Linked DNA regions of Homo sapiens: all the other regions are linked to region 5. The links are contacts of gene promoters, found by promoter capture Hi-C in human tissues and cell types (Jung and others, 2019). All regions are on one chromosome and are shown on one strand. Each heading gives the region's core, a stretch centred on a gene start or on the middle of the fragment in contact. The rest is flanking DNA. Distances are from core to core; before and after follow the strand shown.

Evidence for each region. The method cuts DNA at HindIII sites, captures the fragments that hold promoters and counts their contacts. A contact is called where the count stands out against the background at its distance.
Region 1: a fragment that was not itself captured here is called in contact with the fragment with the promoter of PPP6R3 in region 5 in 1 of the 25 tissues and cell types used here (dorsolateral prefrontal cortex).
Region 2: a contact is called between a fragment that was not itself captured here and the fragment with the promoter of PPP6R3 in region 5, in 2 of the 25 tissues and cell types used here (dorsolateral prefrontal cortex and spleen).
Region 3: a contact is called between a fragment that was not itself captured here and the fragment with the promoter of PPP6R3 in region 5, in 2 of the 25 tissues and cell types used here (bladder and spleen).
Region 4: a fragment that was not itself captured here is called in contact with the fragment with the promoter of PPP6R3 in region 5 in 1 of the 25 tissues and cell types used here (aorta).
Region 6: a fragment that was not itself captured here is called in contact with the fragment with the promoter of PPP6R3 in region 5 in 1 of the 25 tissues and cell types used here (dorsolateral prefrontal cortex).

What each region holds. Positions count from the first base shown.
Region 1 is chr11:68,177,470-68,181,765 of GRCh38, forward strand. KMT5B (lysine methyltransferase 5B) reads right to left here. Exons shown (of 11, transcript NM_017635.5): 4 at 2,663-2,731. Among named protein-coding and RNA genes, the nearest start is that of KMT5B, 34 kb to the right of the region's middle. The HindIII fragment of the contact is 8,126 bases long and covers 1-4,296 here.
Region 2 is chr11:68,159,340-68,163,567 of GRCh38, forward strand. The region is part of intron 10 of KMT5B (lysine methyltransferase 5B); the gene reads right to left. Among named protein-coding and RNA genes, the nearest start is that of CHKA-DT, 40 kb to the left of the region's middle. The HindIII fragment of the contact is 4,466 bases long and covers 1-3,498 here.
Region 3 is chr11:68,769,819-68,774,318 of GRCh38, forward strand. It overlaps CPT1A (carnitine palmitoyltransferase 1A), which reads right to left. Exons shown (of 19, transcript NM_001876.4): 14 at 3,447-3,611. Among named protein-coding and RNA genes, the nearest start is that of TESMIN, 21 kb to the left of the region's middle. The HindIII fragment of the contact is 3,959 bases long and covers 1,086-4,500 here.
Region 4 is chr11:68,800,626-68,804,892 of GRCh38, forward strand. CPT1A (carnitine palmitoyltransferase 1A) reads right to left here. Exons shown (of 19, transcript NM_001876.4): 5 at 3,375-3,476. Among named protein-coding and RNA genes, the nearest start is that of CPT1A, 39 kb to the right of the region's middle. The HindIII fragment of the contact is 6,052 bases long and covers 1-4,267 here.
Region 5 is chr11:68,457,961-68,462,801 of GRCh38, forward strand. PPP6R3 (protein phosphatase 6 regulatory subunit 3) reads left to right here and starts at 2,792. Exons shown (of 24, transcript NM_001164161.2): 1 at 2,792-2,867. RefSeq lists silencers at 2,203-2,352, 2,663-3,032, 3,043-3,092, 3,143-3,252 and an enhancer at 2,463-2,522. The HindIII fragment of the contact is 5,146 bases long and covers 1-4,810 here.
Region 6 is chr11:68,194,801-68,199,420 of GRCh38, forward strand. All of the region lies in intron 1 of KMT5B (lysine methyltransferase 5B), which reads right to left. Among named protein-coding and RNA genes, the nearest start is that of KMT5B, 16 kb to the right of the region's middle. The HindIII fragment of the contact is 6,067 bases long and covers 1-4,597 here.

The sequences.
Region 1 (4,296 bases), core at 1,220-3,719, 280 kb before region 5:
AAGACATGAGGTCCTGAACAGGTATAATACTGTTTACTGGACAGGATCACTGGAAGACTTCAGGTGTATTAATGCATACTGATACTACCAGGAACTTACTAGCTACACACTCTAGTCATTTTTTTTTTAATTCAGTAATCCTGAATTCTCACAACTATTAGCTGAACCATCTGAAAGTTCAAACATATCCTAGAGATAATACTGAAGAAATGAACAGGGCCCTATTTTCCATTTTCAATCAATTGGTATACAAGCCTTTACAGACAGATAAATGCAAGTCCTTTAAACAATTCAGAACGTCTTACTAGTCTGTCGACATATGGTGTCAGAGAACCACCATGAAAATAAAGAGCTGTAGAATTGGGAAAGCATCCAAATATCCATACTCAACTACTTGTAGCCATCACAATTGATTGTGTCAAGATACCATCTCCAAGAAATCCAATGGAAACCATTCTTGCTGCAATCCTACACTACATGGTTATTTGCACATGAAGGACAGATAAGACAACAAAGCAGCTCTCAGCTAAGGCATGACCTGTCGAGCAATATGAAATATGAAATATGAAATGGTGGGAAACAGATAACCCGTGCTTTGTGTGGCAATCAGAAAAGCAATAGTTCACTTTAAGCAAATGCAATAAATTATCCATGCCGTTAAATGACAGGGCTACAAACGACAGAAAGGGCCAAGCTATCTTTACACGTTCAATGTGAAAGTGACCAATGGGAACATTATACAAAAGTAAGTTATAGACCTGGAATGAAACTTGGCTATTTTTAATAGGCTTTATGTGTGTTCTATGCTTTCTGAAACAAGTTCATTCCTATCTAAAAATGCCTTCAGGTAACCTTGGTTTTGTTTACTTTTTATTCATAATGCCAAACAATTTACATGCTAAAACCAACACAAAATAGTCAACTCTTGATTTAGTAGTATTCTGCCTACCTTCCCTGTGTTGACTTCTGTTTCTGCTTTCCTGACTTTATTGCCTCAAACATAAATAAAACCCCTGAAACTATCCCTTGCTACCAATAGCAAGAACCTCTATTTCACTAAAAATATAAGTTGCTGTCCCAAACCTGTTAAAACTTACTGTCACAGTTGGCTGCTATGGGCATGAAATGACAGTAAGGAAAAGGGGGAAGAAAATGGTTAAGGGTGCAGACAGGCAGGAGATGAGACAGTTGTTTTCAATAATCCTACAGAAGTATGTAAAAGTCAGCTGGCTGATAGTCCAAATCAAATCCCATTGTAACAAATACTGTGGAAAATAAAAGTTAAGACTGTTATACCTATTAGGGCTGGTGCAAATGCACTGAAAACCTTAGGGAAATTTTTTTTTTTCCTATTATTGAACAGAAAAATACCCTCTCTCCTTAACTATAATCACTCTAAATCTCCCATACAAACTGCATAAAACTATCCTTTTACTCTGACACTTAAAGGCCAGATAATTTAGAACAGCCCTTTTGTTCCACAAATGAGGAAAATAAGGCCCAACAAGGCTGAGTAGATTGCCAATGACTTAGGGTTAATGAATGGAAGACCTGGGATTTACCCTGGCCTTTCTGGTTCCTGTTATATCACCTGGCTCAGGAGAGCCTTCCTCACATTGTTTCATGGTTAGAAGAGGATTTGACTTGCGTTTGCCATTGAACATCAGCACTGGGCCCAGCCAGAGACAGCTCTAGCTTGTATACTGACAATACAGTGGAAGGGATGGACGCAAATGTGAATTTTAAAATTTCGTATTTGGGTGGGGGGGTGGGTGACAAGGGAGGCAAGAAAAACAGTTATTTGGCATTTCCAAACCAATATGCCCCGTCCTCCCTCCCTTAATAGAAAATTTGCTACTTTAAATCAACCAAACATATCTATTTTTTCTCTTTTTACACTTCCAATCAATGGCTGGTATAAGAAAAATAAAAATGTCATTTACAATTGATTATTATTAAAGGGGCAGGAAAAAAACATATGAATTCACACTCCCACACACCTGTTCCCCACTCTTTCCAGAGACTCACTTCCCAGGTTTTCTTGCTATTTGGTTTTTCTGTCTCCCCACTGTGGCAGTGAAGAAAAGTTGTAGACTGTATTAGCTGTGCTACTGTGCCCTTCATTAGCATGCACAATCAAGAGCTGACTGGAGGGGTGGGGAACAGGAAGGGGAACAGAAAAAAGGGAGACAGGGAAGGAGAGAGGAAGAGAGAAAAATGCTCAAATATTTAAGATATAAAATAAAACCATGAGGCAACATAGTGAACACATTTCCCCCTCTGAAGAAAGTTTAGCTGCAAATCCACAGTTTGTAGACGCTGAGTGAGGAGTCGCAGATCAGCTCTTCAGTCCTTCTTGACCTGAAAATAAACGAGAACCAAAAACATACCTGGCTGAGTCCTGCAATCAGTGCTCAGCTAATCACATGGAGTGACTCCTGATCTTTTGAAGAATGATTTGTTTCTCTTAAAATCACCCTGTTATGAAGTACAAGTGGTTTTTTAAAAAATACAACTATTATCAAACTACTTTAAAAGGTTTGTAAAATGTTCTAAAACTCTAATTTATGCTGACACTTCAAATTACTTAACATAAAAGAACATTTTAAAAGGCTAGAATGGGTTAGTCAGTATCTCATTGTTTTTAACACACACTACCTACCTCACAGGGTTGTTGTGAGAAAAACTGTCAGATTTTGAAAAATGCCTTGAGCTCCTCGAAGGAAAGGCGCTATATAAATGCAAAAACAAACAACAAAAATAAAAAGCTATTTGTATAATCTGTACTTGTAATTTCTAAACAGACTTACAATATTCGTTGTTGCAAAAATCTTTAAAACTCTGTGATAATCAAGAACTTTAAGATACCACAGGTGGGCGCGGCAGGATAGAAGCCATGCTGCTGAAATTCTCTGCTTCCCATAGAACACACCTTACCATGAAGTTAGAAGCTTTGAAAACATTCTTTACGGATTCTAGTCAAGCACTTAATTTTAAAATGATATTTAAAGTGATTCATATTCATATCCAATAGTGGATATGAATAATCAAATACATATAAAAGTGAAATAAAAATTAGATGGTTATAACAGTAGAAAAATGAGTAAGGACTGTACAGGCTGACATTCTGATTAGAAAACCAAGAAAAGTTGAAAAGAGAAACTCAGTGCCCTGAAGTGACTCCCCTGATGTTTAAATGCTGTCTCCTGCTCAGCTCACTGCTGGCCTGAGTCGCCTTCGCGCCTCAGGATACTGTGACATCTCAGGGTCATGCAGCCTCAAAAAGGGGGCATTACTGAAAGCATCGATCCCTTTCTTAAAATATCCCGCTCCCACTCCATTTAAAAACCAGAGGTATAAACAACAACTCTTTTTTTCTTGTTAAAAAGAAAACTTTAGGTTTCATAATTGACAAAAGTCAATTAAGTTCAAATTTCTCCCAATAAATTGAAATTAGCATTTTGTTCGTACTATTTCTAAGTATTCATGCTACAACTCTTGCTTGTTAGTAAATGTAAGGATATATTAAGATTAAAACCTGTGCACTCAAAACATAGCCAGTTTTGAAAATTCTCCAATCATTAAACATCTACTCTTTCTTTTTTCTTTTTTTTTTTTTTTTGGAGATAGAGTCTCACTCTGTTGCCCAGGCTGGAGTGCAGTGGTGTGATCTAGGCTCACTGCAACCTCTGCCTCCCAGGTTCAAGTTATTCGCCTGCCTCAAACTCTTGAGTAGCTGGGATTACGGGCACGCACCACCATGCCTGGCTAATTTTTGTATTTTTAGTAGAGACGGGGTTTCACCATGTTGGTCAGGCTGGTGTCGAACACCTGACCTCGTGATCCACCCGCCTCGGCCTCCCAAAGTGCTGGAATTACAGGCGTGAGCCATCACGCCCGGGCTAAACATCTACTGTTTCTAAACATTCTTCCTGTTGGTAGACTGAAAGAAGTAAAAGGAAGGGAAAAGAGTATAAAAAAGAGAAACTAAAAAGTGACAAATTACAGGTGCATAAACATATGAACAAAGAGCGCACTATACAAGGAACAGGCAGAGAGCTTAGAAAATTAAAATCCAAGAGCAGTACATCTTCTGGTCACTTCTTTTGCACCCCAAAGAGAGAGAAGTCCATAAACTAACAATTTAAGAAGTATTTATTGGCTATTTACTACCTTAATTAAGCATTATCAGTTTTCCTTATTTTCTAAAGTCACATTCTGGTAAATTCTTGCTCAAAAGATGAAGAGCTAGAAGGGATAGTTTTATTTTCAAGTAAATTCACTAAGGTTAATTGA
Region 2 (4,228 bases), core at 16-2,515, 300 kb before region 5:
TCTTTGAAGTTCTTTTCTAATTTATGGGGCATCTATTCATTTTTGAGGTAAGTAGTTGCACGGTTAAGGAGCTTTTCACAGCAGGGACCTAGATTCCACTCTAAGCTTCTTAATCTGTCGTGACACTGGCCCAAACGAACGCTTTCTTCTCCTGATTTAGTAGTTTCCCACATAAAAGATTTCAAAGAAAGTTAACATGGTTTTTTCCTTTCACAGATTCTCCTTAGTCATTTAAAATGTTTCTAAAATCCATTGCTCATTAACCTAAAGGAAGTACAGCACTTGGCCATTAACATAGAGTAGAAATAGAATACTCATGGGCTCTAAGGAACAAATTCTATCGCAATGGTTTCAAACAAGAAAAACAGATGCTAAGAACCATATATTATCACTCTGAAAAGTACAGTCACTACCGAAAAAGAAATGCACTATTCTAAGTTGTCCCCTTCAACTCCGTGAGGAACAGAAGAGGCAACCAGTGGGCTGTCAACTTAGAAGAGCTGCAAAGCTTACTCAGCCCCATCCCTTCAGTGACGGCCAGATGCCAACAATCACAGTGAAGGAAGATGCACGCTGCTAGAATTGTACACTCTCAGGACAAAGGGAGATCCAACTTCTTTCCTCCAAGGCCAGGATAGAAAAGGGTTACAATGACCCTAATGGTAATGACAACCTGAGTAGTGATGAATATGATTCCATTTGAGAATGAGCGTATTCTTATCCACTGGAATTATACAGAACTACTAGGTAGAAAATATTTTTTAAAATATAAGGATATTTAGATAATTCTTTTGCTACAGAATTTCTTTATGCTTACGAGGCTTGCCTACAAGGTGGATCGAATAGACGTGCTGTCAATATAAAGAATAAAGTTGAATGGCTTCTCAAAAGGCTTCATTTGTGACTCAAGCTTAAGCTGCTCCTGTAGTGTCTCTGACCTTGCCACTGACTTTCTGCTATGTTAATTTTTCCTCTGTATTGACATTCCAGACTATTATTTATAGAAGTTGTTACACAAGTCAGTTTCTCAATTACTTAGTTCTTGCAGGTCCAGTTGAAAAACTTCTTCCTAATCAAAACACTCCATTTACAGATTCACTAGAGAAGCCACGATAACAAAACGAATCATCACCACCTCTCATCAGAACAGGGAGGATAAAAACAATAAAACATGGGTAAGCTCAGCACACTGCCCAACCAAGTGAGGACCAGGATCCTGCAGAGAAATCTGTCGCTTTCTACATGCCTCAGGTTGCCAGGGCAACTGCCATTCCTTCCGCCCAGCTAAGCAAGTAAGTTACCATAAGTTCAGTTTTTATTGAGAGAGGAGCAAGAATGCATCACAACATTCCAAAAATATCAAACCACCAAGAATAGAAGGCTCTGCACCTGAGGTCAGGAGTTCGAGACCAACCTGGCCAATATGGTGAAACCCTGTCTCTACTAAAAATACAAAAATTAGTCGGGCACGGTGGTACGTGCCTGTAATCCCAGCTACTGGGGAGGCTGAGGCAGGAGAATCACTTGAACCTGGGAGGCAGAGTTTGCAGTGAGCCAAAATCGCACGATTGTACTCCAGCCTGGGTGACAAGAGTGAAACTTCCTCTCAGAAAAACAAAAACAAAGAAGGTCCTGCACGCACAGACTGGCTCATAAATGGCTTCAGGGTACATAAACCAGCAGAATTCACAGCAAAGGGATTCACAGTTTGAAACAAGAACATACTTACACATGTGGGCTGCTACCAAGGTGGCGCCTCTTTTTAGAATAGTAGGAGTAGTGAACTTTGAATGTGATTCAATTTGAGAACGAGTGATTTATTATCCACTGGAACTATACAGAACTATGTGATAGCAAATTTTTTTTTAATAAGAAATTTAGAAAATAAGAAAAAATAGGGAACTCTTCGGCTAAAGGGTTTCTTTATGCTTGCCTACAAGGTGGACTGAATGGACGTGCTGCCAATATAAAGACACTAGTGAAGAAAGGACTGCACTGCTTGGCTTCCCTTTGCTTGGCTCTCTCAGATGTGGCTACGATGATCCTTTGCTCATTCTATGCCTCCTCAAGGACTAATTTATGACCAAACTTAGTGGTTTCCAACCTTTGATTTCTCCTCTTTCCATTCCACTCTCATGACGTACCTGCAAGCACCCTTACACAACACTCACATCTATGTCATATTCTCAACAGCAATCCCCGCCATCTGGATCCAGCCTGCTCCTCCAATGAGACAGCCTTTGGTGATCTGACAACTTCTTGTCGTCAAACCCAGCACACACTCCTCAGCCCTTCCCTTTCTTCATTTCTCTGAATGTGACACTGATAACCACTTTTTCTTGAGAAAACCTTTCTTCTCTTGGCTGTCAAAGAGAGCGCACTCTCCTGGTTCCCTTCTCCATCCCTGGCACCCTCCTTCATCGGCCCCTTAGACTGTTCTTCTTCAGGTCTGTGTAGTCCTAGGCCCCAGGTGACAAGCACCCATTCTCGCACGGCTATTACCACTTACAGGCTGACAGTTCCCGAACTCTGGCCAGACCCGCTCCTAACTTACAGAACCAGGTCACCAAATACTGACTGTCTCTAAGCCCCTAAATGGAACTCACCATCAAGTCTCCTGACGACGTCCCCTTTCGAGGTCTCCATCTTGGTCAATATCACCACCACATGCCCAGCTGCCAAAGCAGAAAGCTGGAGGTCCTCCTTGACTCCTGCTCTCCTGAACTGCCTCACCAAGCCAATCACCATGTGCCGTGGAGTCCACCCCTGCAATGTCACTGCAACCTGTCTACTCTTCCCTGTCTCGAAAGCCACAGCCTCCTGCATGAACTATGGCAGTTTTGTTTTTCCTATTGTTTTCCCAACAATCCGTTTACCACCACATAGCCAGGATGACTTTCCTAGTGTATCATGCAGCTTCTGGGCTTTAAACCTTTCAGCAACCTAATGCCCTAAGAATGAAGTCTAGAATTTTAACCTGTGCTCACATCTCTTCTTCTTAGCCTGTACTCGCCATGAAGAAAAGCTTTGACTCAAACTCCCCTCTGTCTATAGAGCTGTCTGAAAGGCCCTCTGCTTTGAATAGGCTTCACTTGGCCAACTTCTCATCCCCCTGTAAGACTCAGCTTAGGCAACACCTCCCTGAGGGAGCCTCTCGGGACTTTCTCTGCAATGCCTTTCCTATGTCTTCTCACAGCACCCAAGAAGCTCCTTCCTTGGTACTTCTTATTTTCACCCGTTGGATGACTCCCATTTTATGGTGATTCTGAATTCGGCTCTCCCCATCCCATCCCTCCTTCCAAAACATTCACTGTTGACAACAGAAAACCAAAGCACTTTTATGTGTTTGTCTCTAAACTAACATAAACGCTCCATTTTTGAGCACAAAATGGGTATGTATTTGATGCTATGTATTACATCAACACAGAGATTTCACTTACATGTTACCAATGTATTCTAATTTTGTTTGAAAAGCATTATCTCATCAAAAGCCCTGTCAAAAGGTATGCTCATCAAATCAAAGGAAAAAAAAGACAGGCAAAGAATTTGAGAAATGTGACAAAGATGAGGACCCAGTAGAGTGACAAGAGTCCTTCACTGTCCAAAGAAGCTGCACTGTCCTGGCAGGGGTTGAGAATTTCAGACAGTGAAGGCTAAAGGAGGAAGACAGTGGCCACAATGACAAACTAAAAGTCAATGATTTTAAAGTCCATCAAGAAACCAAGGACTATGACCTAAGTGGGGTCAGATGCACCTGTGTTTGAGCTTGCTGTGGCACTTATATGCCTCGTATGACTCTTCCCCTAGGGGCTGGGACAAATCTCAAATACATGGACCTGGACTGTAATTTTAGGTGGGGGTACACATTCTTCTCAGCAATTACTACATGCTAGGTGCTGTGCAAAATGGCCACATTCATCCTAATGAACGCCGTTGGAAGGGAAAGCGATTAAAGCTATGTGAAAACCAAGCTTACACGAACTAGCATGCCTAAGGTCATCCAGCTGGTGAATGGCAGAGATGGGACTTGTTAGGCCTTCCTGAGCATTAAAATCACGCTTATGCTGCCTATAAGGCATATACAGAAGAATTATGGTGTTGGCCTCAACTTACGGGTAAAGGCCCCACTGCATGGCTATTATGGTCATTTCAGGGTGTCCTCAAAATCATAAGGCAGGGTGGCACAAGACTTCCAGTCAGACAAAAGAGCTGTGACCGACACCAAAGC
Region 3 (4,500 bases), core at 1,815-4,314, 310 kb after region 5:
CAGGCGGATCACTTGAGGTCAGGAGCTCGAGACCAGCCTGGCCAACGTGGTGAAACTCCGTCTCTACTAAAGATACAAAAATTAGCCAGGTGTGGTGGCAGGCACCTGTAGTTTCAGCTACTCGAGGGGCTGAGGCAGGAGAATCACTTGAACCTGGGAGCCGAGTGAGCAGCCGAGGCTGCAGTGAGCCGAGATCGTGCCACTGCACTCCAGCCTGGGCAACAGAGTAAGGCTCCGTCTCAAAAAAAAAAAAACAGTGTGAACTGGGAACATCCCTTCCTCTATGGTTCTGAAGTTTTTTTTCATCCAAAATCATGGCTTTTTCTCCCTCTCCCTGGGGAGGAGTTGGGGGGCGAGTGCTCCTCGGCCTTCTTCCCAGAGTCCAGTCTGCTTTATACACGTATGCCTGGAAGGTGGGGCCCCAGATTCTCGTTTCTATTACATTCTCTTATTATATTTCCCACTTGGCCATCATCCTTGTGCAAGAAAGCTGGTGGTCTTTGTGCAACTCTGCGCTGGGCCGGCTCACTGGGTGTGCCTCTTAATCGTCAAAGCCTTTCTGCTGTTCCATCTCCTGAACAGACATAAATGTTCTTCCTGCCCAATTACCCTGTCATCTGCTAGAGGCATCCTCATCTTTCTTGTTTTAAGGGGACTGCCTCCCACACTTTTACTTTGAAGCAGTAGCTAGCTATTAATACACGATGCCACTTATCCTGTTAAGGAAAGAGCCCTATTACTAAGCCCCTTGACCAAGAGCTCTTATCAGGAATGGATGTTAAACGTGAAACGTCTTCTTAGGATCTGTGAAACTCACTATCTAGGCTCTTCTCTGACCCAACAGTATGGTTTAGTGTATGACTGGATTTACTGACACAAAACCAGCCTCTCACCGCTGGTGTACGCCACTGTGGGTGACTATTCTTTTCCTACAGTGCTGGATTCTAGTTGCTAAGATTTTATGGAGGGTCTCTGCACTTCCATTCATGCGGGAAGCTGGTCTGTGCTTCCTTTTTCTGCGTTTAGCTGCAGCACAGTGATGAGAGCCACAGGTTCTCGAACAAGCCTGCCTGCTTCCGATCTCAGTCCTGCTGCGTACGAGCTGGAGCCCTCAGGCAAGATGCTTCACCTCCGAGTGTGGAGGGCAGAGATGAAGAGATGCCTTCCTCGGGGCCGTCCTGAAGTTTCGCTCGCTCCTGCCAAGTACATGGCACAGTGGCTGGTGCCCCTTGCAGCTCATTCCCACACCTGGGCCACGTGGGTTCTGGGGAGCAGATGGGGTGGCTTCCTTTGTGGAGTCTCTGAGCTGCAAGCTCTTTGGAGTCACAAGGGTGGCTCCCTGACAACCTCTCACTTTGGTCCCTGGACCAGAGGCCTTTTCAGGTTTTCTACCTTGAGTCAACGTCACCAATTTGTACTGCTTGCAGAATAGTCATTTCAGCATGTTTCAAAATGTACTAAACTGGAGCGTGGCATTTCCTTACTAAACTCCTAAGTCCTGCGCTTACTTGCAGGGAATTCTTTTAAAAAAGAAAAAAATTTAAAAAGATAAAATAACATCCTTTCTGTAGGTAAGGTATCAACTGCTTGCATGCCCTCATACTGCACGTTTACGGGCAAAATCTGCTCATCAATTCTCAAAATCCAGCTCACTGATTCTGAGATGCGATGCCTCTATTCCATGTCACCTTTTAATCACATGATCTTTAGTCAATGATCTGTCACAGACAGGAGCTTGTCACTGTGCTCCTGGTACTCTGCCCAGCTGCTTCTGGTTTACGCATAGTGAGCATGTTACTTGGGAAAGCAAGGCTTCATAACTGTGACAGTCTTTACAGACTGTATTAGCATGCATTTTAAATACGATTTTGGCCCATTCATTCCAGTTCATCTGATATTAACACTGCCTCTTACTTCTCTGTAACTGTTTTCTTAACTTTAGGTGGAGAGAGCATAGACTCTGGAGCCGCTGGCCCGCTTTATCCCTGCCTAGTGCCACCCTGGCAAGCACCTGGCCTCTCTGCACCTGTTTCCTCACCTGTAAAATGGGAAAACAAGATTTTCTGAGGCATAATGGGGACTTGTAAATTTTTAAAAATGGGATAACAAGAGTGCCTCCCAGGTGCAGAGACAGTGAAGCATGAGGTACATGATGCACCAAGCAAAATTCAACAATGGCACAATCGTTACCAAGGTTGGGGGGGCAGTGCCACACGCTGCATATGTGTACAGCACTCAAGTTTTAATACAAGGCTGGGCACGGTGGCTCACGCCTATAATCCCAGCACTTTGGGAGGCCAAGGCGGGTGGATCACCTGAAGCCAGGAGCTCGAGACCAGCCTGCTCAACATGGTGAAACCCCATCTCTACTAAAAATACAAAAAATTAGCTGGGCATGGGGGCGCACACCTGTAATCCCAGCTACTCGGGAGGCTGAGGCAGGAGAACTGCTTGAACCCGGGAGGTGGAGGTTGCAGTGAGCCGAGATCATGCCATTACACTCCAGCCTGGGTAACAAGAGTGAGATTCTGTCTCAAAAAAAAAGTTGGGAATATCTCAAGCCAATGCCACGATGACTTGTGCTGCCCCCAGAAACCAAGGGCCCCCTGTCTGGGATGGAATGCTCCCTCCAATGGACAAGAAGACCCATTTATGTCCCTGCTAGGGGTGCAGGCTGCTCCTCCAACAGGGGTTGCCAGGTGCAAGCCAAAATATGGCCAGTGCTCAGAAAAGGGAGATGGAAATGCCATGTGTATACAGGGGATCCAGCCCATGGCACCTCCAAGTGGCTGGAGTTTCTCCTTTTATGGAAGGAGATGTCAAAGGCCAGAGACGTTAAGTAATTTGCCCAAAGACATCACTTAATAGCTATATAATATTCCACTGTATGAAAATACCAAAATTTAATTTAGTATGGTGAAAGGAAGATTTACTCTGCCAAAAGGAAAGGATTAAGCTGAAAGCTAAGTCATGCAAGAAGCTTTTTATTTTGTTCCCAAGCAGAGAGCGACAGATGAAACGTGGACCATGTTCACCTGACCTGTGTGAAGTGCAGATTTACCGAGCGCCAGACGAATACGTAACTGACTATTCCCCTACCTGCCCACACTATTTCCACTTTAGCAAATGCTAGGATTCGGGGCTTATTATGGGGCTTAACTCTCCCTCTGTAGAGTGATGAGATCTCACTTTGTCCTCATCCCCCAGACTCTCCCTCTCCCGTGTCAGCTGGGAATCTACGCCTGCTGGAGGGGGATTTGCGAACTTTGCCCGCGTGCGTGGTGAAACACCCAACGCCACCCGGCCCCCGGAGACCGGGGTCGGGGGGAGCTGTGCTTCTCCTATGCCGGGTTTCGGGCCTTCCCTCCCCACTGGGTGAACAGTCTTGGGCAGGTGTAGGAACCCCCAAAGTGCTCACGACAAAACCCTAGGCGGTCAGTTCTTACCTTGTAGTGCGCCAGCTGGAGGGCCAGCTGCACAAAGGCGTCTGGGCTCGTGCGACATTTCTTGATGATTCCTTTACCAAAGGCTACGAATGGGAAGGAATGGAAATCCACGTCGTTTGCCAGAAGATTTGCGGTGTTCAGGGAGGTCTCTATAACCTCTTGACACTTGAGAGAAAGAAGAAAAAGGTTTTACGGAACGAGGGGAGAAAAGTACTGACGCACACCCAGAAGGAAATTGGAGGCTGGTTTTTAGTGCAGCTATAAACTCGGTACTGGGAAGTACACAAACGTTTTCCTGACCCAGAAGCCCTAGTAAGTTAGGGGCATGGCTCCCTGACCCCGGAGGAGCAGCTGCAATGTTATAGCAGGTAGCGGGTCTGACATGAGCAGGCCAGGAGAGGGCTTCCTCCGACACACACTGGGAATATCACGCGACCATCAGTGATGGTCAGGTGGTTGTGAACTGTCTCTCTAAAATAATAATAGGTCACAGCCGGTGCCAGGGAAAGGCAGTCTCTCAGTAGATAGAAATGGAGCTGGTGACCAGCAGCTTCCCGATAAGATCTCAAGCGTTGGGCGAGTGGGCTGAAGCATGCGCACTGAGAGGCAAAATGGCGGCGTCTAACTGGACTATGAGCTTCCTCCAGCAGTGCTAGACAGGCAAGGGCAGAACACCTCAAGTGAGCATGCGCACAACTCCAGTAAACATACTGCGCATGCTCCCTTCCCAAGCGCTGGAGCCACTGTGCATGCGGACAGCCCACAACAAGGGAGGAATTGGGAGAAGTAACACAAGACCCTGGACGCATGCCAATGTATAAAACCTCAAGTCAAGAGGTCAAACCTCGCACTTAATCTCCCAAGTTGGCCGCTTGGCCCTCTTCCAAATGTACTTTCCTTCCTTTCGTTCCTAAAGTTTTTAAAATAAACTTTCCCGCTTTTAAACTTGGTCTCTCCTGCCTTCTGCCCCACAGTCAAATTCGTTCTGAGAAGGCAAGAATTGAGGTTGCTGCAGACCCGTACAGATATGTTCTGACGCTAACAGGAACATGGG
Region 4 (4,267 bases), core at 1,685-4,184, 340 kb after region 5:
ACTGCATTCCAGCCTGGGTGAGATGCTGTTTCCCCCAGCAACAAAAAGTAAAACTGTTGCTAACCCCACAATTTGTCATGACATATTTTAATCCGACAAGTTGTTTGTCTGCTGTAAAAAACAAAGCTTGGTGCAACAGTAATCTCTCTATAGTCCCTCCCTGTACATTGAAAAGTAAGACCCCACTCCCTTAAAAGGGCCAGCTGTAGCTGGGCACGGTGGCTTATGCCTGTAACCCCAGCACTTTGGGAGGCTGAATCAGGAGGACTGCTTGAGCCCAGGAGTTCAAGACCAGCCTGGGCAACATGGCAAGACCCTGTCTCTACAAGAAAGTATTTGCAGGCATAGTGGTGCACACCTGTGGCCCCAACTACTTGGGAGGCTAAGGCAGGAGGATCACTCGGGCCCAGGAATTCAAGGTTGCAGTGAGCTAGGACGGTGCCACTGCATTCCAGCCTGGGCAAGAGAGTGAGACTCTGTCTCCAAAAAAAAGGGGGAGGGGGCAGGTGTCAAGCATCTTGAGGCTTATTCAAAGTAAAATGCCCGTGAATGAGACAGAAAATCATGCCCTGAATGAGCTGAAGTGGAACCCCGAGCTACGCAACACAGACAGAGGTCACTGAAGGTCAAGCATCTCTTGCTCACCCCATCCTGCCAGTGGAACAGGGGCCGTCATCAGCCCTGATTTGCAAGCGTGGGCACAGAAGAGGAGAGATGGGGTGGGCCAGGTATGGTAGCTTGTGCCTGTAATCCCAGTACTTTGGGAGGCCAAGGTGGGCAGATCACTTGAGGTCAGGAGCTCGAGACCAGCCTGGCCAACATAGTAAAATCCTGTCTCTACTAAAAATACAAAAATTAGCCGGGTGTGGTGGTGCACATCTGTAATCCCAGCTACTCAGGAGGCTGAGGCAAGATAATTGTTTGAACTTGGGAGATAGAGGCTGCAGTGAGCTGAGATCATGCCACTGCACCCTAGCCTGGGTGACAGAGCAAGACTCTGTCTGAAAAAAAAAAAAAAGAGCAGAGATGGGAAGACCTTACCAAGGCCAACAGGGACTCAGTAACCAAGCCTGGATTCAAACCCTTAACCCGAGAAGTTTTTGCTTATTATTATAGTTTTAAAATTGGAGTCCCAGGATGTGGAAAAACTAAAGCACCCATGCACTGCTGGTTAGAATGCAAAATGGTGCAGCTGCGTGAGAGTCTCATGGTTCCTCAATGAGTTACCACGGAATTCCCATGAGCCAGCAATTCCACTCCTGGATACGTCCCCAACAGCGGATGAACAGGTGGATAAACTGTGGTCCTTCCATACAATGGAACACTATTCAGCCACAAAAAGGGATGAAGTTCATCCATCCTACAACACGGGTGAACTCTAAAGACATGCTAGTCACAAAAGGCCACGTGATTCCATTTATGCGAAATGTCCAGAAGAGGCAAATCCATACAGACAGACAGGAGATTAGTGGTTCTGAGGGGCTGGGAGAGGGAGGTAGAAGGATGGGGAGTGACTGCTTAGTGGCTATGAGCTTTTGGGGGATGAAATGTCCTGGAACGAGACAGCAGTGAGGGCTGCGCAACATTATAAATGTACTTAGTGCCCCTGAACTGTACACTTGAAAATGGTTAACAGTACAATTCATGTTGTGTACATTTTACCATAATTTTTTTAAAAACAAAGAAATGGAGCTGCTCCCTCTCCTTTTGTTCAATTAAAGAAAAAAAAAGACCGAAGCAGGTAGATCACTTGAGCTCAGGGGTTCAACACGAGCCTGGACAAGACAGTGAAACTCCGTCTCTGGAAAAAAAAAAAAAAAATAGGGCCAGGCGTGGTGGCTCACACCTGTAATCCCAGTACTTTCGGAGGCCGAGGCAGGCAGATCACGAGGTCAGGCGATGGAGACCATCCTGGCTACAGTGAAACCCCGTCTCCACTAAAAATACAAAAAAAAAATATTAGCCAGGCGTGGTGGCAGGGGCCTGTAGTCTTAGCTACTCAGGAGGCTGAGGCAGGAGAATGGTGTGAACCCAGGAGGTGGAGCTTGCAGTGAGCCAAGATCACGCCACTGCACTCCAGCCTGGGTGACAGAGCGAGATTCTGTCTCAAAAAAAAAAAAATATTGCCATATGTAGTGGCATGCACCTGTAGTCCCAGCTACTCAGGAGGCTGAAGTGGGAGGATCATTTGAGCCCAGGAAGTTGAGGCTGTGGTGAGCCAAGATCGCGCCACTGCACTCTAGCCTGAACAACAGGGTGAGACCCTGTCTCAAAAAAAAAAAAAAAAAAAAAAAAGAAAATGAAAAAGAAATGAGTAGCTTTGAGGATGAAATGACAGGCTTTCTAGGTAGTGCCTTGCCCCTGGGGGCCTGGCTTTGAAGTGCGGCTGCTGTGTCAAGAAGCACCCTGTCCTCAGACCGGCTAGAAGCTGACTATCACCCCACCCTCAGCTGGTGACCCTCACCAATCAGATCAAAAACATTCGCCACCCAGCAACAGATGAACGGATAAATAAAATATGGTCTAGCCATGCAATGGAATACTATTCAGCCATAAGAAGGAGGGAAATTCTGACACAGGCTGCTATGTGTATGAACTTTGAAGACATTTTGCTGAGTGAAAGAAGCCAGTCACAAAAGGACAAATATGATATGATGCCACTTATATGAGGTCCCTCAGATTGGCAAATCCAGAGGCAGAAAGTAGAAGAGAAGTTACTAGGTGGGGGGAGGGAAGAATGGGGAATGACTGCAATCATTTAATACAATGTTGTATTTAGTAATTATGTAAAGTAGCAAAAACTGGCCTGGTGCAGTGGCTCATGCCTGTAATCCCAGAACTTTGGGAGGCTGAGGCGGGTGGATCACTTGAGGTCAGGAGTTCGAGACCAGCCTGGCCAACATGGTGAAACCCTGTCTCTACTAAAAATACAAAAATTAGCCGGGCGTGGTGGCAGGTGCCTGTAATCCCAGCTACTCGGGAGGCTGGGGCAGGAGAATCACTTGAACCTGGGAGGCGGAGGTTGCAGTGAGCTGAGATTGCACCACTGCATTCTAGCCTGGGTGACAGAGGGAGAGTCCATCACAAAAAATAAAATAAAATAAAATAAAATAAAATAAAATAAAATAAAATAAAGCTTTAAAAAATTCACAAGCAGTTTCTCTATGAAACCTGACACTTTTTAAAAAACACCTAAGATGCAGCAGTGATGCATTGGAGAAAAAAAAAAAAAAGAGTTCCTATGAGAACCCTACCAGGCACACCGCTGAAGGCTACTTGAGCCAAATGGCGGTGACCTAGTTCATCATAATTAAGACCTAAGCCTTAATCCACAGATGGCTGGCATTTCAGTGTGAGGCCTAAGCCACACCTACCCTGTTCACAGTGTCTTTGACAGCCGGGACCGGCAGGCGAGGCAGCGATGTCTGGAAGCTGTACAACATGGGTTTTCGGCCTGAAAAGATCTTGACCATACCCTGAAGAGAGAGAATTATATTTTCAGACTACTGCCATACTACTCTGAAGGCACCTGTTCTCGTCTGATCTCGTGAAGCTAAGCAGGGTCAGTCCTGGTTAGTACTTGGATGGGAGAATGACCATTTCAAAGACAAGGCTATGTTAAAGATCCGAAGCCACTTTTCCCGTGCGCACAATGTGCCAACCACTTACTGATTTTCTGTGTCGATTTATTTTTCATCTGGTCCATCTTTTACCCGCCCCATACTTACAGGTTCTAGCAAATAAGCATATAACCCTGCCCTCCATGCCAATAAAAGCCTGGGCAACATGGCAAAACCCCACCTCTACAAAAAATTAGCCAGGCATGGTGGCATGTGCCTGTTGTCTCAGCTACTTGGGAGGCTGAGGTGAAAGGATTGATTGAGCCTGGGAGGGTGATGCTGCAGTGAGCCATGATCATACCACTGCACTCCAGCCTGGGCAACATAGTGAGACCCTATGTCAAAAAGCAAAACAAAAACAAACAAACCAAAAAACCAGGTAGAATCAAAGCCAAGCCTGACAGAGGCCGTGAGATGTCGCTGCCAGCGTCGTGACTGGCCAGGACCCTGACCGTGCTTCTGCACCTAGGGTGAGTCTCACCCCACCTCCTTCCGCAAGGCCCTTAGTTTCGGGATGGGCTCCAGGCTCTAGGAACAGTGAGGAGGGTCAACGTGCCTGGCCCTGAGCCAAGCCGAGGGGAAGCAGTTTCTTTCCTTCAGTCATTGCCAAGTCTCCCAAAGGACACATCTGTGGCCCTTGGTTTTAG
Region 5 (4,841 bases), core at 1,542-4,041:
CCTCCATGGTCCCTTCTGCACCTGCTTCTCGAGCTGTTGCCCCAGACCTGAGATCAGCCCCACCCTGCCTTCCACGGGGTGTGCTCCTTCCACCTTGCTGCCTCGGCCTCTTTCCCTGGCATGGCCGCTCCCGCCCTGCCCAGGTGATCAGCCTGTGAATCCCCTCCCTAACCCCCACACAGAGCACACCTCCCAGGCTGGCTTCCGGCTTGACTATGTTCCTCCATGCCTCTCTGAGTAGCAGGATCAATGTGAGAAAGGTCTGCCCTGTCTGCAGCCTCCCCAGAAGCACAGTACTTTTCGTGGCGCGTACACGGGCTGGTAGATACAGTTGTCCCTCTGTATCCGTGGGAGATTGCTTCTGGGACCCCCAAGGATTCTCAAGTCCCATATATAAAATGGCTTAGTACAGTTAACAACAGAGACGTGTTCTGAGAAATGCATCGTTAGGCAATTTTGTCCTTTGCAAACATCACAGGTATACTTAGCACAAACCCAGATGGTCTAGCCTACTACACACCTGGGCTATATGGGATAGCCTATCGCTCCTAGACTACACATCCATACAGCATGTTACTGTGCTGAATACTGAAAGCAGCTGTAACACAATGGTAAATATTTGTGTATCTAAACATAGAAAAGATCCAGTACAGCTGGGCGCGGTGGCTTACGCCTGTAATCCCAGCACTTTGGGAGGCTAAGGTGGGTGGATCACCTGAGGTCAGGAGTTCAAGACCAGCCTGGTCAACATGGTGAAACCCCCATCTCTACTAAAAATACAAAAATTAGTGGGACATGGTGGCATGCACCTGTAATTACAGCTACTGGGGAGGCTGAGGCAGGGAGAATTGCTTGAACCCAGGAGGCAGAGGTTGCAGTGAGCTGAGATCGCCCCATTGTACTCCAGCCTGGGCGACAGAGCAAGACTCCATCTCAAAAAAAAAAAAAAAAAAAGTCCAGTACAACTACAATATCATAATCTTATGAGACCAGTCTTTTTTGTTTTTATTTATTTATTTATTTTTTGAGACAGAGTTTCGCTCTGTCGTCGAGTCTAGAGTTCAGTGGTGCAATCTCGGCTCACTGCAAGCTCCGCCTTCCGGGTTCACGCCATTCTCCTGCCTCAGCCTCCTGAGTAGCTGGGACTACAGGCGCCCGCCACTGCGCCCGGCTATTTTTTTTTTCTTTTTGTATTTTTAGTAGAGACGGGGTTTCACCGTGTTAGCCAGGATGGTCTCGATCTCCTGACCTCGTGATCCACCCGCCTCCGCCTCCCAAAGTGCTGGGATTACAGGCGTGACCGCGCCGTGACCTCCTGTGGATTTTCATGGGACTCTGAGAGGCGCCTCAAATCCATTTTGGAATAAGGCAGGTTATTAGCATGGGGTCTAACCGTGGGCTGTCTCGGTGTCCTGGGCTGGCTCTTGGGGCGGGGGTCCTGATGTCCGGGACCTCGGTCCTACCTGGGAGGCACAGATATGGCGGGGAACGGGAAGCCCGGGGGAGCATTTAGAAGCTCGTGTGCACAGGGAAACCCTGTCTCTACAAAAAAATTAAATTAGCGGGGCCCAGTGGTGCGTGCCTATGGTCCCAGCTACTCGGGAGGCTGAGGTGGGGGGACTGCTTGAGCCCAGGAGGTGGAGGCTGCAGTGAGTCATGATCACCCCACTGCACTCCAGCCTGGACAACAGAGCAAGACCTTGTCTCAAAAAAGACCCCAGGCCAGGCGCGGTGGCTCACCCCTATAACCCCTGCACTTTGGGAGGCTGAGGTGGGCGGATCACCTGAGGTCAGGAGTTCGAGACCAGCCTGGCCAACATGGTGAAACACCCGTCTCTTCTAAAAATACAAAAATTAGCCGGGCATGGTGGCGTGCACTTGTAATCCCAGCTACACGGGAGGCTGAGACAGAACTGCTTGAACCTGGGAGGCGGAGGTTGCAATGAGCTGAGGTCGCACCACTGCACTCCAGCCTGGGGGACAACAGGGAAACTCCGTCTCAAACAAAACCAAACCCCAAAAGTTCTCGTCTAAGTCCTTCTCCCAGGACAAGGGCACTTATCTCTTGGCGGTGCGTCACAGGTAGGGATATTCCGCGATCCCTCACCTTGACCCCGCTACGAGGACAGCCACCTCTTTCAGGTAAAGAGATCGCAATGGGAAATCATTCTGATAAAAATTCCCCTGTGGAGAATGCAGGCATCGATCCCGTTACCTCTCACATACTAAACGAACGCTCCTCCACTTAAGCTGATTCCCTAGCCCGGCCTAACCTTTGCAGCCGGCGCATATTGTGGCTCACGTCACCACCGGTGTCCCCCGCCGCCCCCGCCCCGCCCGGCCAGCTCGCCACCCTATTGGATCCCTCACGGCTCCGGCTCCACGGCCATGATGGGCTTGGCTCAATTTAGTTTTAAAAAGCATTGGCCACTCGGATTGGTGGTCCGAAGCGTCCGTCAAGCGGAGGACCTGCTGTTGCTACGGCGTAGGGGGTCCCAGCCAGGTTTCTCCCCGTTTCTGATTTGTTTCTCAGGCTCCGGGGTCCTAGAGGTTCCGGATCCGTCAAGTCCATGGGAAAAGAATGCGCCCCTCGCGCTTGACTGACGAGGCTTGCGGGCCAATCGGAATGTAGTCAAAGGAGCCGCTAGGCGATCCAATAGGTAGTAGGGGGCGGGAGAGAGGGGCCAATGAGCCTGGAGCTGGGGGCGGGGGCAGGGCCGCGATTGGCTGAGAGGCGGCCAGAGGGCGGGCGGGGGGGAACTCAAGGCCTGCTTGATACGTCCGCCATTTTGGGCGCTTCGCTGATGGTGTCGGTGAGCGCGTTTCCCGCCTGAGCGCAACTAGCGGCGGGTCGTGGGCACCTCCAGGTAATGGGGGTAGGGGAGGCGCCGGAGCAGGCCGCGGCGCGGGGTGTGCGAGGCGCGCGGGCAGGCGCGGGGCCCCTCCACCTGGCCTCAGCGGCTCAGGGAGGGAACGTCCCGGCCCCTCTCCCCTCCCCCCCCGGAATTCGTCGCTCCGCGGGCCCGGGAGGCGCGGCGCCGAGTCCTTCCCGGCCGCTCCCCGTCCGCTCCTGTTAGCCGGGGGCCCCGCCAGGACGGGCGCCGGGAGCGGGACGCGGTCGGGGCGGCGACTTTGTGCCTCGTTGACGTTCGCGGCCTGGCGCGGCGGGCGGGCGAGGCGCGCCCCTGACCCGGCTCTGGCTCCAGCCTTCCCGCCCGCCGGCCGCGGCCCGCAGTCTCGCCCCCCGCCCGGCCCGCGCCCGGTCTCCGCTCCCGCTGGGCCTCCCGGGGGCCTCGGGGAGCGCGTCAAGTTGAGGCAGCAACTCGCCGTCAAGAGTCGCGAAGACCATTGTTGGACTCTGCTCTTCGGGAAACAAGTTTTGTGGGTTTCTGTTAATTCGCCGCAGAGTCATCGGGATCCACACCAGCCAGTTCCGAGGCTCCCAGTACCCTTCCCAGTGGCTTTTTAACTCCTGTGAGGTGGCTTGTATGTAAACTGTCTCGAATGCCTCCCTGGTGTATTTGAGCCGGGGGTGGGGGGGGTGGGTGGTCCTTCTTGTGGCTTGAAGTCCCTCCCTCTTAAAGAAGCCCATTCACTGTTTACTTGGAGGTGTTTCCTGTTGAGGTCCTGCTGGCTGTGATCACAATTTAGACTTTTTAATTATAGGTGAACGGGATGGGTCTTTGGATGTACCTCCGTGCCCTGACGTTTCAACCGCGTGACTTAATGTCATTTTCCTGGTACTTCACGTTTTCTCTGTGGGGCTTTGGGTCTGTTTTGCTTTTATGGGAGGGGGTGCTTGACAGGCGTTCCCTTTCATCCTCGCAGCACTTGTTGACGGGGTGGTGTCCTTTATTCGTGGGACGTTTACTTTGATTTTGTCCTCAAGGTCATGTTGCAGATAGGCTTCAAGGGGGACAGGGACTCCAGGTTTCCAACCACCGAACTGTGCCTCAAGTAGCAAGTGTATGAGACCCAGTTATGGTGGTGGTTGGGTTTTCCTCACTGTGGAGTGGAGTCAGTGACCACTTTTTAGCTCTGTGACCTTGGGCAAGTTACCCAGCTTCTCTTTTTTTTTCTCTGTAGTATGGGAATAATAATAAGTGTCCCAGCCATAAGTTTGTCAGGATAATTGCCCTAATACATGTAAAACAGCTAGAGCTGTGCCTGGCACATACAGTCACCTCAGTGGCTGATTAGTGGTTAGGCTAGTTAATGGCTATTATTGTTTAATTTAAATTTGATTTTTAAATGTTTAGGTACTATTGGGAAGTCAGATGAGCATTTGAGTCCCGACTCTTGGTGACTGCCTTTAGAAAGCTCTGTGTAAGACTCAGTTGGGCTGAAAAAGTAAAACTATAAGTTATTTTAATTTTTTCAGGACAGGGTTTTTGACCATTCCTTAAATTAGGAACATTTACCGGAGTAATTAATGAGTAGTAGCGCCTCATAATGTTTAAAGAGATGGTTAAATACAGAAAAGCCCATCACAAGCTTAAGTCGGGCTTTGTTCCTCATGTGCTTTTGGATACTAGTTTCTGGGTGACTGCCACCCGAATCAGTAACTAGGGTTTCTTAGTGTAAGTCCTCCTTGTTACTGAAAACTGTAAGGGTGCCGTGGATTGCAGTATTCTTCAGCAAAGATAGTTTGGGAAATAGCTTTTGTCCTGGAGGGATACTTTGGAAGGTATTCTCCACTTCAGCATGTCTGGTCAGGGAGTCTAGAACATTGAACAAAATGCCTGCACTCAGTCAGAAATAAACTCACAATCCTTTACCGCTTGCCCGATACTCTCCTCCATGGTGCTCGAAACCTTGCGTGCACCTTCCCCTGGTATTGT
Region 6 (4,620 bases), core at 314-2,813, 260 kb before region 5:
TTCATTGGTACAGATGCATAAACTTGGCATGATAAATTTAGAATTAGGTTTTTTGTTGTATCCTATAAAAAGCTGCATTAACAACAAGCAAATGGGCCAGGTGGTGGCTTATGCCTATAATCCTAGCCCTCTGGGAGACCAAGGCAAGAGGACTGCTTGAGGCCAGGAGTTCGAGACCAGCCTGGGCAACACGGCAAGACCTCATTGCTACTAAAAATAAAAATTAAAAAATTAGCCAAGGATGGTGGTATGCACCTGTAGTTACACTCAGGAGGCTGAAGTGGGAGGATGGCTGCAGCCCAGGAAATTGCGGACACAGTGAGCCATGACCATGCCATTACACTGCAGCCTGGGTGACAGAGTGAAAAAAAAGAAAATGATGAAGTGGTAAATTTATATAAATGTATTTTATATTTCAAGTTAGATTATACTCTCAGAAGCTATGTGGTTTACAGAAAATAGCCCTCTCCTATCCCACCTCTGTCTCTTACTAGGCAGTTGGTAACCAACAAAGTCACTTAACCTCTCTGAACCTTAACTTCCATTATCCAGAAAGTGAAGCTGATCATATTTTCCCCATCCACCTCACAGGGCTGTTGTGAGGATCACATGAAATAATGTACCTAAAAAAGTTGTTTCTATAAAAGGTACAACACAGATAGATCCAGGGTCCTGTTACATAGTTGCAAGTCACACTCTTATCTCCAGGGCCTGGGAAGGTAGGTGATTTAAGCACACAGAAAGCACCTACCATGTCCAGGGCACATACATGGTAACAAGATTATGTTATTTTCCTCTGAATACACAGAATACTACCATGGGCTAATTCTAAGGAGCAAGACTGTAACTTTCCCTAAAATTATAGCTCAGCATTCATAGTGCTCTAGGGCAATTATGGGTTGTAACATATTAATGGTTTGCAACATTTTTTTTACTATGTTGTGACCAGTAATTTTTTTTAAATGAAAGAACACAGAGCAGAATATTTCACAATGCATCCCACATAGTAAGTTTTGTTTTAGTTATATATGTGTAAATGTGTGTATACTTGGTCATTAAATAAAATGAATTTTTGGCCAGGTGTGGTGGCTCATGCCTGTAATCCCAACACTTTGGGAGGCCCAGGTGGGCAGATCACTTGAATCCAGGAGTTTGAGACCAGCCTCGCCAACATGGTGAAACCCCGTCTCTACCAAAAATACAAAAATTAGCTAGGTGTGGTGGTATGCGCCTGTAATCCCAGCTACTCAGGAGGCTGAAGCAGGAGGATCACTTGAGCCCAGGAGATGGAGGGTGAAGTGAGCCAAGACTGCACCACTGGACTCCAGCCTGAGTGACAGAGCAAGACCCTGTCTAAAATAAAATAAAATAAAATGCATTTTTTTCCTGGGGGTGTGGGGAAGGGCAATGCACCATGCCTTTCTCCTCTGTCTGCCTGGAATGTTATAACACCATCTCTTTGCCTAATTCCTTAAGTCCCAGTTCAGTGTTCACATCCTCTAGGAAGTGTTCCTTGACATTCACTGCCAAATCTAGTTATATACTTATGCTATAAAACTTAAGTGAAAGCCCTTATGTGACTATATTGTTTAAGTGTCTGCTTCCTTAATTGAGAGTTCCTAAGGTTGAGAATCTATTTTTCTTATCTCTGGCCCTTGTGTATCTAGTATAGCACACAGTACATCCTAGAGGCACTCAACTGATGAAATAAATAGGTTGTATTCTAAACTGCATCATAGAAACTATATTTCTGCATTAAAAAAAACTGTAAATTAAAGATACTTCCTGACCTCTTCAAATCCTCTCCTTTCTCAAAATGTCCATGGTGTGTAAGGGGGTGAGAGAAGCTCCTGCACAGACAGAAACAAGGCAGGAATCACAGCTGCTACCACCACTAACTTCCCTACTGCTTGCCATTATACTTTCTGGTTTACTCCCTAGTCCTTGACCCTCCAGAGAAAAAGAACCAGGACCAGGAAAAGTGCTTTTGGTCCTTTAGGAAATCATCTGTAGAATGCCTGTGTTTAACACACAACTTATGGATAATCATGGAACAATGTACTTTTAGGCTTCTCAGGAGTCCTAATATACCTCAAAAATAAGACATAAAGCATAATTATATGAAATAGAAATAAAATATATGGAATAGAAAGGTTATCCATGGAGAGTCTTTTTTTTTTTCTTTTTTTGAGACGGAGTCTCGCACTGTCCCCAAGTTAGAGTGCAGTGGCCCAAACTCGGCTCACTACAACCTCTGCTTCCTGGGTTCAAGCGATTCTCCTGACTCAGCCTCCCGAGTAGCTAGGACTACAGGTGCGCACCACCACACCTGGCTAATTTTTTTTTGCTATTTTAGTAGACACGGGGTTTCACCATGTTGGCCAGGATAGTCTCGATCTCCTGACCTCATGATCTGCCTGTCTCGGCCTCCCAAAGTGCTGGAATTACAGGCGTGAGCCACCACGCCCGGCCATGGAAAGTCTTTAAGTCCCAACCAAGATGTCTACTTGAGAGAAAGCAGAAAATTTGGGGATGAGGCCCAGCAATCTGTGTTGTAGTAAGACCTCCAGGTGATGCAAGCTCCAGTGTAAGAGCAATCGCTCTAATTTACTTATTCATTTTATCATGTTAGGGCAAAGAATAGATACAAAATTTTAAGAAAAATTATGGAATAAAAAATTAAGGAAATTATAATATCAACCAAACATTTTTCTGAGAATTAGGAAAATTCACCAACAAATCACTTTAGTAATAGCAAACTTTGGTTCAATTCATGGAACACAGACTGAGATCCACTCTAATGTGCACATAATTTAAATTAAATGTGGGTTAATGATCCAAACTGGAAAAAATCTGTGCCCTCAGATCTCATTTATATTGTGATCAACTGATATTATTTGAACTCAAGGTAATTTAATCTAACAGGTACTTCTGTCAATCACAGAACATGGCTAAATTTCACTAGTATGAATGCACTGCACATGTCTGGATGTAGCCTAGCAGAGAGAGATTCTCCACAGGTCCATATGATAAAAGCTATCAAAAGATCTTTCTTAAACTGATAAATGAAACATTTGTAAAAACAATTCTAATGAAGCTATCAATAATTTGGGGGCTATTTAAAAAAATTTTCAGCTCAAAATGAATATATATTGTACTAATGATCAGGTCATCATTTGTTCTGCCCTCCTAAGTGTGGAATCTGTTCTTGCTGGCATGATCTTTCCTCTAAGACCACACGTTTACACATTAAAGGTAGCGATGGGATTTTAAAAAGCTAACACAAGTCGATACTGTAGTAGAGTATAGACAAATAGGGGTTGAAAACATCCCAGCACTTTGGGAGGCCAAGGCGGGCAGATCACCTGAGGTCAGGAGTTCGAGACCAGCCTGGACAACAAGGTGAAACCCCATCCCTGCTAAAAATACAAAAATTAGCCAGGCGTGGTGTCACATGCCTGTAATCCCAGCTACTTGGGAGGCTGAGGCAGGAGAATAGCTTCAACCCAGGAGGCAGAGGTTGCACTGAGCCAAGATTGTGCCACTGCACTCCATCCAGCCTGGGCGACACAGCAAGACTGTGAAAAGAAAAGAAGAGAAAAGAAGAGGAAAGAAGATGAAGGAAAGGAAAGGAAAAAAGACAAGACAAGACAAGACAAGACAAGACAAGACAAGACAAGACAAGACAAGACAAGACAGGGCGGCTAGCAAAGCCTAAATGCTTCATAGCTACCACAGAGGTGCCCCCTCCCAACAAACACACAAGGGTGCAGACTCCCATGGGACATAGCTGGCTCACGTGGAAATGTCCCCATGGTCACGGTTTGGCTGACACACTCTGAGCTAATTAGCCACTGACTACATTTAGAAGTAAAAATTGCCTCAATTTTGTCCCAAATTGTTAGGAAAAACATTTCAAGAAAGTACTGACTGCTTCTTTTTTTTTTGAGACGGAGTCTCGCTCTGTTGCCCAGGCTGGAGTGCAGTGGCACGATCTTGGCTCACTGCAACCTCCGCTTCCCGGGTTCAAGCCATTCTCCTGCCTCAACCTCCTGAGTAGCTGGAACTGCAGATGCACGCCATCACACCCGGCTGATTTTTTGTATTTCTAGTAAAGATGGGGTTTCACCGTGTTAGCCAGGCTGGTCTCAATCTCCTGACCTTGTGATCTGCCCGCCTTGGCCTCCCATAGTGCTGGGATTACAGGCGTGAGCCACCACGCCCGGCCATTACTGACCACTTCTTAAATGGTGTATTAGCTTGGTGCAAAAGTAATAAAGTAATTGCGTTGTTTTTTTTTTAGTTACAAATCCTGTTCTGATTTCCCAATATAAAAATGTCAGGAAAATTAGACATCCACTATATTCCAGACACTGTTGCAGGCACTGAGAATACAGCATGGAACAAAATAAGGCTTCTGCCCTCATCTGTGCTTATATTCTAATGGAAAAAAGCACTAGGAAATAATAAATTAACGAATGAATGTCGGCACCTTTTGGGGGGAATAAGCCATTTATGGTGGCAGGGAGTGTTTCAGGTGGAGAAGGAGGGTGATAGTGGCTGTTTTCTAAGACAGCAAGGGATGTGAAGGGACAGCCAGGCATCAGGCAAGAAGCATGC